Regions from separate parts of the Homo sapiens genome. Here region 1 is linked to region 2. Evidence: promoter capture Hi-C in human tissues and cell types (Jung and others, 2019). All regions are on one chromosome and are shown on one strand. The core of a region is centred on a gene start or on the middle of the fragment in contact, and the rest is flanking DNA. Distances in the headings are between cores, read along the strand shown.

Region 1 (6,974 bases), core at 3,065-5,564, 1.1 Mb before region 2:
TACAGGTGCCTGCCACCATGTCAGACTAATTTTTGTATTTTTAGTAGAGACAGGGTTTCTCCACATTGGTCAGGCTGGTCTTGAATTCCTGACCTCAGGCGATCCACCCACCTCAGCCTCCCAAAGTGCTGGGATTACAGGCATGAGCCACTGTGCCCAGCCAAGAAAAATTTAACAAAGAGATTGAAATAATAATTAAAAAATCAAACAAACAGAAATCTTGGAACTGAGAAATACATTTGCCAAACAGAAAAATGCACTAGAGGCTCTTAACAGCAGAATGGGTTAAGTGGAGGAAATAATTAGTGAGCTTGAAGACAGGCTAATAAAAAATATGGCCATAGGAGAAAAAAGAAGAATGAAAAGGAATGAAAATTATCTACAAGATATAGAAAATTACCTCTAAACACCAAATCTAAGAATTATTGGTATTCAAGAGGGATATGTACAACAGCAAGGGGCAGAAACTCTATTCAAAGAAATAATACCAGAAAACTTTCCAAAACTTGAGAAATATATGAATATCCAGTACAGGAAGGTCAGAGAACATCAAACAGATTCTACCGAAATAAGAGCACCCCAAGGCATAAAATAATTTTCTCTCAAAAGTCTAAGATAAATAAAGGATCCTAAAAGCAGCAAGAGAAAAGCAAATAACATATAAAGGAGCATCAGTTTGTCTGGCAATAGACTGCTCAATGGAAACCACATTGGCCAGGAGGGAGTAGGATGACATTTTCAAAGTGCTGGAAAAAACAAAACAAAACAAAATAACCCTGCCATCCAGGAATACTGTATCCAGCAAAGTTGTCCTTCAAATATTAAGGAGAGATGTAATCTTTTTCAGACAAACAAAAGCAGAGAATTCACCACCACCAGACTCATCTTACAAGGAATGCTAAAGAGAGTTCTTCAACCAGAAGGAAAAAAACCACCCCACGAACATGCAAAAAGAAAACACTTGAAGGTATAAAATCCACTGGTAAAATTAAATACATGGACAAACCCAGAATATTCTAATATTGTAAATGTGGTGTGCAATTCATGCATAACTCTAGTATGAAACCTAAAGAGCAAATCTATCAAAAACAATATAGCTACAGCAGCCTACTAAGAGATAGGCAGTATAAAAATATGTAAATTGAGACAATAAAAAGACAAAATGTGAGGAGGATGGAGTTCAAGTGTAGAATTTTTTTCATTTTTGTTTCTATTATTTTCTTTGTGATCTAGAACTTTGTGATAAGTTGCCACCTCTGTAAAATGACTTGTTATATTTATAAGATGTTTTCTGTAAGCCTCATAGTAACCACAATGCAAAAACCTATAATAGAGTCACTGCAAATAAAAAGCAATGAATTAAAACATACTGCCAGAGAAAACCACTTAACCACAAAGGAAGACAGTAAGAAAGAGAGAAAGGAAGAGAGGAGTTACAAAACAACCAAAAAACAAGCAACAAAATGGTAGTGGTAAGTTCTTACTTATCAAAATAACACTGAATGTAAATGAATTAAATTCTCCAATTAAAAGGCATAGAATGGCTAAATGGATAAAGAAACAAGACCCAACTATATGTTGCCTACAAAAAAACCCATTTCACCTATAAAGACACACATAGAGCCCAGGAGATTGAGGCTGCTGTGAGCTATGATCGTATCACTGCACTCCAGCTTAGAAGACAGAATGATACCTTTTTTTTTTTTTTTTTTTTTTTGAGATACACATAGACTGGGCTGGGCACGGTGGCTCATACCTGTAATCCCAGCACTTTGGGAGGCCAAGGTGGGCGGATTACCTGAGGTCAGGAGTTCGAGACCAGCCTGGCCAACATGGTGACCCCGTCTCTACTAAAAACACAAAAATTAGCCAGGCATGGTGGCACATGCCCGTAATCCCAGCTACTCGGGAGGCTGAGGCAGGGGAATTGCTTGAGCCTGGGAGGCATAGATTTCAGTGAGCCGAGATTATGTCACTGCAGCCTGGCTGACAGAGCAAGACTCTGTCTAAAAAAAAAAAAAAAAAAAAAAGATACACATAGACTGGAAGTGTGTCCAGTTAAAATAAGATATAGTACGCAACTGGAAACCAAAAAAGGGAAGTAGATATGTTTATACCAGATAAAATAGACTACAAGTCAAAGACTGTAAAAAGAGACAAAGAAGGTCACTATATGATGATAAAGGGGTCGATTCAGCAAGATGATACAACAATTATAAATATCTATGCACCTAACGTTAGAGCTCCCAAATATATAAATCAAACATAAATCTATCTAAAGGGAGAGATAGACTACAATATAATAATAGTAGGGAATGTCAACACTCTACTCTCAGTAATGCACAGAACATCCATGCAGAATATCAATAAAGAAACATTAAACTACACACTAGACAAAGTAGACCTAACTAATATTTACAGAATATTTCACCCAACTGCTGCAGAATACACATTCTTTTCATCAGCATATGGAACATTCTCCAGAGTAGACCATGTCTTAGGCCACAAAACAAGTCTCAACAAATTCAGAAAAGAAGAAATAATATCAAGTATCCTTTCTGGCTACAATGGAATAAAACAAGAAATCAATAACAAGAAGAACCTCAGAAACTACACAAATACATGGAAACTAAGCAACATGCTCCTGAATGATGAATGGGACAATGAATAAATTAAGAAAAAAAATGTAAAAAGTCTCTCAAAACAAATTAAAAGGAAATATACCATAATCTGGGGGATACATCAAAGGCAATACTAAGAAGGAAGTTTATACAACAAACAACTATATCAAAAAAGCAGAAAGATTTCAAATAAATAACCTAATGATGCACCTCAGGAAACTAGAAAAGCAATAACAAACCAAACCCTAAATTAGTAGAAGGAAATAAATACTAAAGATTAGAGCAGAAATAAATGAAATTGAGATTTAAAAAATACAGAAGATCAATGAAACAAAAAGTTGGTTCTTTTGAAAAAATAAAATCAACAAACATTTAGCTAGACTATCTAAGAAAAAAAGAGAAAAGACCCAAGTAAACAAGATCAGAAACTGAAAAGGAGACATAAGTGAGACTACAGAAGTTCAAAGAATCATTAGAGACTATTATAAACAACTACATGCCAACAAACTGGAAAACCTAGAAGAAATGGATAAATTCCTGAACATATACACTTATCAAGACTGAACTATGAATATTGTTCATATGAATATCAAGACTGAACTATGAAGAAAATAGAAAACCTGAACAAGCCAATAATGACTAATGAAATTGAAGCTGTAACAAAGAGTCTCCCATCAAGAAAAGCCCAGGACATGATACCTTCACTGCTGAATTCTACCAAACATTTAAACAAGAATTAATACCAATTCCATGCAAACTCTTCAATAAAACTGAAGAATAGGGAATACTTCCAAACTTGTTCTACAAGGTCGTCATTACCCTGATACCAAAACTAGACAAGGACATGACAAGAAAAGAAACAACAGGCTAATATCACTGATAAAAATAGATGCAAAACCCCTCAACAAAATACTAGCAAACTGAATTCAATAACACATTAAAAAGACCATTTGGCGGCTGGGCACAGTGGCTCACGCCTGTAATCCCAGCATTTTGGGAGGCTGAGGGAGGCGGGTCATGAGGTCAGGAGATCGAGACCATCCTGGCCAACATGGTGAAACCCCATCTCTACTACAAATACAAAAATTAACTAGGCATAGTGGCACATGCCTGTAGTCCCAGCTACTCGGGAGGCTGAGGCAGGAGAATCGCTTGAATCTGGGACGCAGAGGTTGCAGTGAGCCGAGATTGTGCCACTGCACTCCAGCCTGGGGACAGAGTGAGGCTCTGTCTCAAAAAAAAACCATTTGCCATGACCAAGTGGGATTCATCCTAGAGACATAAGGATGGTTCAACATTTGCAAATCAATAAATGTGATACATCACATTAACAGAACCATAAGACCATTTCAATCAAGGCTGAAAAAGTATTCAATAAAATTCAACATCCCTTTATGATGAAAACTCTCAACAAATTGGGTAGAGAAGGAGCATATCTCAAAATAATACAGGCCATATCTGACAAACTGTCAGCTAACATCATACTGAACAGGGAAAAATGGAAAGCCTTTTCTTTAAGATGTGAAACATGACGAGAATGCCCACTCTCAACCTTTTAATCAACATAATATTGGAAGTACTGGCCGGAGCAAGTAGGAAAGAGAAAGAAATAAAGGGCATCCAATTGGAATGAAAGAAATCACATTAGCTTTGTTCACAGATGACATAATTTTATACTTAGAAAAATCTATAGATTCCACCAAAAAACTGTTAGAACTGATAAACGAATTCAGTAAAGTTGCAAAATCAATGTACAAAAATCAGCATTTACATACATCAACAGCAAACAATCTGCAAAAGAAATCAAGAAAGCAATGCCATTTATAATAGCTACAAAGAATATAAAATACCGAGGAATCAATTTTTTTTTTTTTCTTTTGAGACAGAGTCTTGCTCTGTCACCCAGGCTGGAGTGCAGTGGCTCAATCTTGGCTCACTGCAAGCCTCCCAGGTTCAAGCGATTCTTCTGCCTCAGCCTCCTGAGTAGCTGGGACTACAGGCACATGCCACCATGCCCGGCTAATTTTTTGTTGTTGTTTGTATTTTTAGTAGAGATGCAGTTTCACCATATTGGCCAGGCTGGTCTCAAACTCCTGACCTCGTGATCCACACACCTCAGCCTCCCAAAGTGCTGGGATTAAAAGCATGAGCCACCGTGCCTGGCCCCTAGGAATCAATTTAACCAAAGACGTGAAAGATCTATACAAGGAAAACCATAAAATTTTGACAAAGGAAATTGAAGACGACATACGAAAAAGGAAAAGATAGTCCCTGCTCATGGATTGGAAGAATTAACATTGTTAAAATGGCAATATTACCCAAAGCAATTTATAGCTTGAACACAAGCCCTTTCAAAATACTAATGATATTATTCACAGTAATAGGAAAAAAAAAAACCCTAAAATTTATATGGAACCACAAAAGACCCCAAATAGCCAAAGCAATACTGAGCAAAAAGCACAAAGCTGGTGGCATCACATCCCATTATGTGATTTCAAAATATACTACAAGGTTGTAATAACCAAATCAGCATGGTACTGCCATAAAACAGATACACAGATCAATGGGAACACAACAGAGAACTCAGATATAAAATCCATTCATTTATAGCCAACTAATTTTCAATGAAGATGCCATGAATATACACTGGAGAAAGAAGAGTCTTTTCAATAAATGGTGCTGGGGAAACTGGATAACCATATGCAAAATAATAAAACTAGACCCCTATTTCTTACCATATATAAAAATGGATTAATTACTTAAGTCTATGACCTGAAACTATGAAACTACTAGAAGAAAACATTGGGAAACACTCCAGGACAAAGATTTTTTGTGTAAGACTCAAAAGCACGGGCAATAAAAGCAAAAATAGACAAAGAGGATTACAGCTAGCTAAAAAGCTTCTGCACAGCAAAAGAAACAATCAACAAAGTAAAGAGGTAACCCCCAGAATGAGAGAAAATATTTGCAAACTACTCATCCAACAAGGGATTAATAACTGAATATATAAGGAGTTCAAACAACTTAATAGCAAAAAAAAAATCTGATTTAAAAATGGGCAAAACATCTGAACAGACATTTCTCAAAAGAAGACACACAAATGGTGTATGAAAAAATGCTCCACATCACTAATCATCAAAGAAATACAAATCAAGCCTGGGCGAGGTGGCTCACGCCTGTAATCCCAGCACTTTGGGAGGCCAAGGTGAGCGGATCAACGAGGTCAGGAGATCGAGACCATCCTGGCTAACACAGTGAAACCCCGTCTCTACTAAAAACACAAAAAATTAGTTGGGCGTGGTGGCGGGCGCCTGTAGTACCAGCTACTCGGGAGGCTGAGGCAGGAGAATGGCATGAACCCGGGAGGCGGAGGTTGCGGTGAGCCGAGATCGTGCCACTGCACTCCAGCCTGGGTGACAGAGCAAGACTCTGTCTCAAAAAAAAAAAAAAAAAGAAAAGAAAAAGAAAAAGAAAAAGAAAAAAGAAATACAAATCAAAACAACAGTGAGATCATCTCACTCCACTTAAAATGGCTTTTATCAAAAAGGGATGCTGCTGAGGATATGGAGAAAGGGGAACCCTCATAGACTGTTGGTGGGAATGTAAATTAGTACAACCACTATCAATAGCACTTTTTGAGCTATTTTTAGCACAAAAAACTAAAAAGAGAACCACCATTTGATCCAGCAATCCACTACTGGGTATATATCCAAAAGAAAAGAAATCAATATATCAAAGAGATATCTGCACTCCTGTATTTATCACAGCACTATTCACAATAGCCAAAAAATGGAATCAACCTAAGTGTCCATCAATGGATGAATAGATAGAGAAGATGTGGTATATATACCCAATGAAGTATTATTCAACCATAATAAAATAAAATTATGTCATTTGTAGCAACATGGATGCAAGTGGATGTCACCATGTTAAGTGAAATAAGCCAAGTGCAGAAAGACAAATATTGCATGTTCTCACTCATATGTGGGAGCTAAAAACTTGGATCTCTTGAAGACAGAGAGTAAATTTGTGGTTTTCAGAGGCTGGGAAGGAGAGGGGAGTGAGGGGATGAAGAGAGGTTGATTAATGGGTACAAATATACAGTCAGAAAAAGTAAGATCTATTGTTCTATAGATCTGTAGGGTGACAATAGTTTGCAATAACCTATTATGTATTTCAAAATAGCTAGAAGGGAATAACTTGAATGTTTCCAGTATAAAGAAAAGACAGATATTCAAGGGACAGATATCTCAATTATCCTGATTTGATATTTACACATGATATGAATGTATTAAATTATTACATGTACCCTGAAAATATGTACATCTATTATGTATCAATAAAAAATAAACA
Region 2 (7,490 bases), core at 3,997-6,496:
TCTTGTCACCCAGGCTGGAGTGCAGTGGCAAGATCTCCGCTTACTGCAACCTCCGCCTCCCAGGTTCAAGTGATTCTCCTGCCTCAGCCTCCGAGTAGCTGGGATTAGAGGCATTCGCCGCCGTGCCCAGCTAATTTTTGTATTTTTAGTAGAGACAGAGTTTCATCATTCTAGCCAGCCTGGTCTTAAACTCCTGACCTCAGCTGATCCACCCGCCTCGGCCTCCCGAAGTGCTGGGATTGCAGGCATGAGTCACCATGCCCAGCCAACTTCTGTAATTTTTTTTTTTTTTTTTGAGATGGAGTCTTGCTGTGTCACCCAGGCTGGAGTGCAGTGCCGCGATCTAGGCTCACTGCAAGCTCCGCCTCCCAGGTTCACGCCATTCTCCTGCCTCAGCCTCCCGAGTAGCTGGGACTACAGGCGCCCGCCACCACGCCCGGCTAATTTTTTGTATTTTTAGTAGAGACGGGGTTTCATCGTGTTAGCCAGGATGGTCTCGATCTCCTGACCTCGTGATCTGCCCACCTCGGCCTCCCAAAGTGCTGGGATTACAGGCGTGAGCTACTGTGCCCGGCCTTCTGTAATCTTTTTCTCTGGTTCTAACTCTGGTGTGGCCTGATGCTAAAATGTTTATCTTAAAGCTCTGGAACAAAACCATTTTCCTCCAATATAACTTGATTCTGTAGTCTTGGCTTTTCTCGATATAGCTAAATTATTTCCTATAACCAGGGCACTTTTGATGCTGTTACTGAGACATATTTATTGTCCTGCTTAAGATACAAGTTTCCTTGTTTACTTTCCTCAAAAATATAGTGTACACTCATAACTCTGGACACACTCTTCCTGTATTTTAATTAAATCCAAGTATCCTTTTTTTTTTTCTCGCTCTGTCTCCAGGCTGCAGTACAGTGGCATCATCTCAGCTCACTGCAACCTCCGCCTCCCAGGTTCAAGCGATTCTCCTGCCTCCATCTCCCAAGGAGCTGGGACTACAGGTGCGCACCACCACGCCCAGCTGATTTTTGTATTTTTAGTAGAGACGGGGTTTCACCATGTTGGCCAGGATGGTCTCGATGTCTTGACCTCATGATCCGCCCACCTCGGCCTCCCAAAGTGCTGGAAGTACAGGCGTGAGCCACCGCGCCCAGCCTAAATCCAAGTATTCTTTTCATTGAGTTTGTCTTCCAGGTTATCTAAATAGAGTTCCAATAAAGAAAAACAATCATATTACAAAAGGTTTTTCTTTACTTTTTAGTAACTATCCTAAAATTTTTCTTAATGTTTTATCAAGGTAATTCCTGTGACTTACTGTGTTTTGATCACTTTAAAAAAAAAAGCTTTAAAAAGGTGAAGATTTTTTACATCCACATAACTTTCTTTCTTTCTCTCTCTGTTTCTTTTTTTTTTTTTTTTTTTTTTTGAGATAGGGTCTTGCTCTGTCTTCCAGGTTGGAGTGCAGTGGCACAATCACAGCTCACTGCAGCCTCAACCTGTGAGGCTCAAGAAATCCTCCCACCTGAACCTCCGGAGTAGCTGGGACCAAAGGCACACACCAGTACACTGCCTATTTTATTTATTTATTTTTTGTTTATTTATTCATTTATTTTTTAAATTTTTGGTTGAGACAGGGACTCATTAGGTTTCCCAGGCTGGTCTCGAACTTCTGGGCTCAAGTGATCCTCCCGCCTTGGCCTTCCAGTGTTGGGATTACAGGGATGAGCCACCACATCCAGCCTTTTATCTTTTTTTTTTTTCTGAGATAGAGTCTCGCTCTTGTCGCCCAGGCTGTAGTGCAATGGCGCGAACTTGGCTCATTGAAACCTCTGCCTCCCGGGTTCAAGTGATTCTCCTGCCTCAGCCTCCCAAGTAGCTGGGATTACAGGTGCCTGCCACCATGCCCAGCTAATTTTTTTGTATTTTTAGTAGAGATGGGGTTTCATCATGTTGGGCAGGCTGGTCTCAAACTCCTGACCTCAGGTGATCCATCCATTTCGGCCTCCCAAAGTGCTGGGATTACAGGCATGAGCCAACATGCCTGGCCCTTTTATCTTCTTTAGAGTTCTCTTTTCTTCTTACTAGCACACAGGTTGGCAAACCATGACCCACAGGCCAAATGCAGCCCACTGTTTGTTTTTGTAAATAAAGTTTCATTGGAACACAGTAACATTTGAACAGTAAACACAGTAACATTTGAACACATTTGTTCAAATATTATCTATGGCTGCTTTCACATTTACAACAGCAGAGTCGAGTAGCTGCAACAGAGACCAAATCCTCCTCAGAGCATAAAATATTTATTTTTCTTTTCAGGAGAAGTATAACAGCTCCTATACTATCCAGTCCCTCATTATTCCAATCCCATTATAGTTAATAATTTTTTTATGTTAAACTTTCCCTGTTCAAATTGTTGTGTAGTTTCTCACTTCTGATTGAACCCTGTCTGATACATCTCCAACCTCTCTGGCCGTTTCTCAGTCAATTTTTGGGCTCCCCTCCCTCTACCCATTTCATAATGTTAGGGTTCCTCAAAGCTTCCCTCTGCTTTTAGATAGGTTTTTGCTCTGCCACCCAGGGTGGAGTGCAGTGGCACAATTCTAGCTCACTGCAGCCTCCAACTCCTGACTCAAACAATCCTCCCACCTCAGCCTCCCAAAGAGCTGGGACTACAGATGTGTACCACCATGCCTAGCTAATTTTTTAGTAGAGATAATCAATGGTTTTTAATCTAGATTCCATTATGGCTCCAATGTGTCTATAAACCACCTGAAATTATATGCAAATTTTATATGGATATGCAAATACACACAAGTATGGGGAGAAATTTCCAGCTTCATCTTTTGGCAATATAGCTCAATAGTTAAGGGCACAATAGACCCTGCATACAACTTGGTGGACAAAAGTGACTGCATCTGGGATGCTAATCTGCAATGCTGACTTCAATGTTGACTGCAATGTTGATTAGCCCCAGTCCTGTGAATATCTCCTGATTCCTACTTTATTTACTGTCCCTAGTGTAAGAACATGTCAACCTTGATGTTATTGCACAAATTATTATCTATTACACATGTAGCATTCTTGCCTGTTCTGGAGGGCTACCTTTAATTGTCTTGCACAGAGCAGTTTGACTCTTTCCCTACAGTATATAAACTCTGAGTGTGGAGCTTACATGTACAGAAATCTGCCACCCAAGCCCACATTTCTGTCTGTAAATTCCCACAGTAAAACACCCTTACCAAGAAACTGGATTTGTCTGCCTCAACCTTTGGTGTCTTGGCTCCTCTGGCATTTGGGGGCCACTTTGCATATAGGGCCCTCTCATGGAACACCACCTGCTTCAGTTTGAATCCCAGCTCTGCCTCTTTGACCTAGGCTAGCTTACACGGTGCCTCAGTTTTCTTGTCTGTAAAATAGGGAAAATTATAGTACCTACCTCTTAGAGTTGTTATGGGAATTAAGAGTTAATATATATATATAAATCATTGGGACAGGGCCTGGCCATAATTAAGCAGTATTTAAGCACTGGCTATTATTGCCATTTCTGGCACTCTCCCTTCTCCCTAGACGGTTTTCTGTTGCTCTAGTGCACCCTGCTTTCTCTGACTGTGAACCCTCAGGTGGGGTCTTTCCTCTGCTCAGCACACTCTTGTCTATGTTGCTTGCCTACTAACTTCCCTCTGGCCTCCGCTCAAATGTTATTTCCTCAAATAAGCCTCTCCTGATCTAGAACTCCTCTCCCTTGTAAAAGCTCCCAGAGCTTTCTCTAATCCTCCTCATAACCTTCACCATGATTTATTTACAGTGATTACTTATTTAAGGTCTTCTCTGACAGTCCATGAACTCCGGGCGAGCAGAGATTATGTGTTCCTGGCTTCCTGCTGGACATCAGCACAGTGCCTAGTACACTATAGGAATGCCATAAATGTTTGTCAAATGCGTGAATGACTGAATAAGGAACAAAACAAATGAAAGGCTTTTATAAAGTTATAAAACCCAATACAAATATTAGGTAACACAATAATGAGAATGTGACAAAATGTGATGATTGCTAGGTAATCTAATGTTAAATTGGTAGGAATTAGTATTGTGTGAAGGAAACCCTCTCTTCTCCAATTTGCTATAAAATATATTAGTTCATTGGAACCCGTGTCTTTTAACCAAATGGAAATTATGCAAAAGGACCAGAAAATATTACTGGGTACAATTAAGGAATCACAGACAGATATTGATTGGTTAAAACACCCTCCACTTTCACCCCCAGGAAATAGGCCTCAGATGAAAGAAACTATTGAACAGGGAACCTATTTATTCACAGAGAACATATTCATGGCCTTAATTCAAGACAGGATTAAATACTTTCACGAGTTGGCAAAACCAACTGTGCCAATCTGAGATATTCATTGCTACCCTGGGAGTTAATGTATGTGACCCAAGCCATCAGGAAGACGATATTCTATTATCAATGAACACTCAAACACTAGAAAAATCATGATAGTTGCCACCATAATTCAAGATAGACACAATAAAGTGATTCTCCTGAGAATGTCTTCAAGGACTTATTGCTTCCTCTTCTCTGGAAAAAGGAATCCTCGAGGAGGAAGGGTTTACATTCCCCCACCTTCCCAACTGTCAGACTTCGGACCGCTCCTCTCCTGTCTAATCCGCCTTTCATTTCCCAGACGCCAACATCTGATCTCCAGGAGAAACAGTGCGGTAACTGCCTAACCAGGATTGGGGAAAACTGAACCAGGCACTGGACTTGGGTCTGGGGAGATAGAGGACTGCAGAGATTTCACAAACACCGCGGTGCCTAGTACACTATAGGAATAAGTGTACTATTCCTATAGTGTATACTTTTTTTTTTCCAGAAAAATCCCTCTGGGGTATGAGCACTATTTTCAGTTCTGGTTCAACTTTTCATTGAGATTCTATGTGGATAAGAGGATCTTGTAGTGAAAAAAAGATAAAAAGCAGTGTTTTCATCTGAGTGTGAGAAACCATGTGTGCCTAGAGGTGGGAGAACTGAGTATTCAGAAGGCAGAAAAAATAACTGAGAGCTGGGTGAATGATCCCACAGGCCCTAAGCCCTAGATGGTTGGGGATTAGCGATGTATAATTCAACTTCTGCCAGCGTTGGCGGCAGCGCTCCCACGTAGCCAGCCTGAGGCTGTCAAGCTCTGGACTACATTTCCCAGAAGGTCTGCTCCCCGGGCTGTCGCAATTTGAATTGGGGCGTGTCTAGAAAGAGAAGCCATAGTCGGCGAGCAACGCTGGAGCATCCCGCTCTGGTGCCGCTGCAGCCGGCAGAGATGGTTGAGCTCATGTTCCCGCTGTTGCTCCTCCTTCTGCCCTTCCTTCTGTATATGGCTGCGCCCCAAATCAGGTCTGTGCAAATGTATTGCCTTCTCTTGAGAATTCTTGTTGCGGGGCGGGAGGGAAACATAGAATCCCCACCAAAGCTTTCTTGGAAAACTCCCCTGGGGGGGCTCCAAGATGGCGGAGCCCAGAGTTCGGTGGGTTGGAGGCGAGGTCCAGCTGTCCTGGGTGCCAGGAGGACACCCGAGACCCCAGGCGGTGAGAAAGGGCGGCAGTCCGGGGCACACTGCTTTTCCCTGGCCTGTTTTTCTTTTGTCTAAGCACCCCCTGATTCTGGCTCCAGGGAATCCCGAGGGTAAGGCTACCTCAAACGCTTGAGTTTCGGACTCTTCAATGGGATATGGCCCGACGCTGTTTTCCCCTTATTCCCCACGCCTTAAACCAGCCTTCGAGGTACAAAGGAGCGATTCCACATTTCGCCCTCTGAAACTGATAGCAATCGTAACATCTGCGGCCCCATCCTTGCTCTCTCGTTGCTGTTACAATCGCTTGTTCTGTGGGCGGATGTTGTAAAGGAGAAAAGTGAAAAGGAAGAGTGTTTGGTTATGAGCTCTATCCTGCCTTGCGAGCAGGAGCACGGGGGATCTGAGTTAGGAGCTAGGGTACTGGGGCGGTGAGGGCTGGGAGAATGGTGGGAAGGTATTGACCAGGTGATAGATCAATCAGCCCAAGGCTGGCCAAGTGCCCCAGTGAATCAGCAGCGGGCTGTAAAACCGGCAGCCTGCTTATTGGTTCTAAGTAAATCACCAGTGGTGACGGACCAGTGACTGAATAGACAGACACACTCCTTCCCCAGGTGGGCGGTCTTAGTCCCAATAGAACTTGAAGCCAGGCCAGATCACAGTCATTTCTTACCACAGTCACCTACTTTCCTTCTTTTATTTTTATTTTCTCTTCCTTCTCTGGTGCCCCTCTTCCAGTTATATTTTTTCTGCCTTCTGAACACTCAGTTCTCCCACCTCTAGGCACACATGGTTTCTCACACTCAGATGAAAACACTGCTTTTTATCTTTTTTTCACTACAAGATCCTCTTATCCACATAGAATCTCAATGAAAAGTTGAACCAGAACTGAAAATAGTGCTCATACCCCAGAGGGATTTTTCTGGAAAAAAAAAAAATATATGTGTGTATATATATATATATATGTGTGTGTGTGTATATATATATATGTGTGTGTGTGTGTATATATATATATATATATATTCCAGGAGCTGTATTCCCAACTCAGCAGGGTTATGGGAGTCGGGCCAGAGCTGGACTTTTATAGTTGTCTCTTTCATTCCTGCTGGTTAAGGAGAAGAAAGAACTAAGTACAGGTCCTACTAAGTTGTCACTCCTGGAGCTACATACAGTAAGGGGATGTGGGAAACAGCCTAGAGGCTTGTTTTCTGAGGAGGGAGGTGATGGTTTGTGGGGACCATGAGTTAATCTGCCTCCCTGTCAGCATTTTCGCACTATGCAGGTAGCTTCAATGGCTAAGAGTATGTACCTTGCAATTCCAAGTTCAATGAAAAAGGCTGAAATGCTCTTTAAGAATGCATCTCCTGGTCAACAGATTGTTTTAACCAGAGTCCCAACATTGCCAAGAAGAGAATAGGCCAGTCTGAGAACCACCAATCTGTGTTTGTGCATTCATTCATTTGGAAAAGGCAATATAGTATAGTACTTAGAAACAAGCACTCTAGGCTGGGCTTGGTGACTCACACCTGTAATCCCAGCACTTTGGGAGGCTGAGGTGGGCGGATCACCTGAGGTCAGGAGTTCGAGACCATCCTGGCCAGCGTGGTGAAACCCTGTCTCTACTAAAAATACAAAAATTAGCTGGGCGTGGTGGCGCATGGGTGAGGGGGTGAGGGATGAGAATCGCTTGAACCTGGGAGATGGGGGTTGCAGTGGAGGTGGAGGTTGCAGTGAGCCGAGATCACACCATTGCACTCCAGCCTGGGCAACAAGAGCAAAACTCTGTCTCAAAAAAAAAAAAAAGAGAAAGAGAAAGAAAGAAACAAGGACTCTAATTACACAAAGCAAGACTTGAATCCCAGCTCCCCTTTGTACATACATAATCTTCTCTTTGTTTTAAGTGTGTATGTGCATGCGTGTGGGTGTGTTTTTTTT

What was found. Contacts are between HindIII fragments. The study calls those that stand out against the background at their distance.
Region 1: a contact is called between a fragment that was not itself captured here and the fragment with the promoter of RDH11 in region 2, in 1 of the 25 tissues and cell types used here (dorsolateral prefrontal cortex).

The regions. Positions count from the first base shown.
Region 1 is chr14:68,830,091-68,837,064 of GRCh38, reverse strand. No RefSeq gene overlaps it. Among named protein-coding and RNA genes, the nearest start is that of ZFP36L1, 41 kb to the right of the region's middle. The HindIII fragment of the contact is 4,582 bases long and covers 2,024-6,605 here.
Region 2 is chr14:67,693,520-67,701,009 of GRCh38, reverse strand. It overlaps RDH11 (retinol dehydrogenase 11), which reads left to right and starts at 5,246. Exons shown (of 7, transcript NM_016026.4): 1 at 5,246-5,380. The coding sequence starts at 5,307. It also overlaps a transcript of GPHN not described here. RefSeq lists enhancers at 4,929-4,978, 4,999-5,048, 5,093-5,729 and a silencer at 6,079-6,138. The HindIII fragment of the contact is 4,554 bases long and covers 1,935-6,488 here.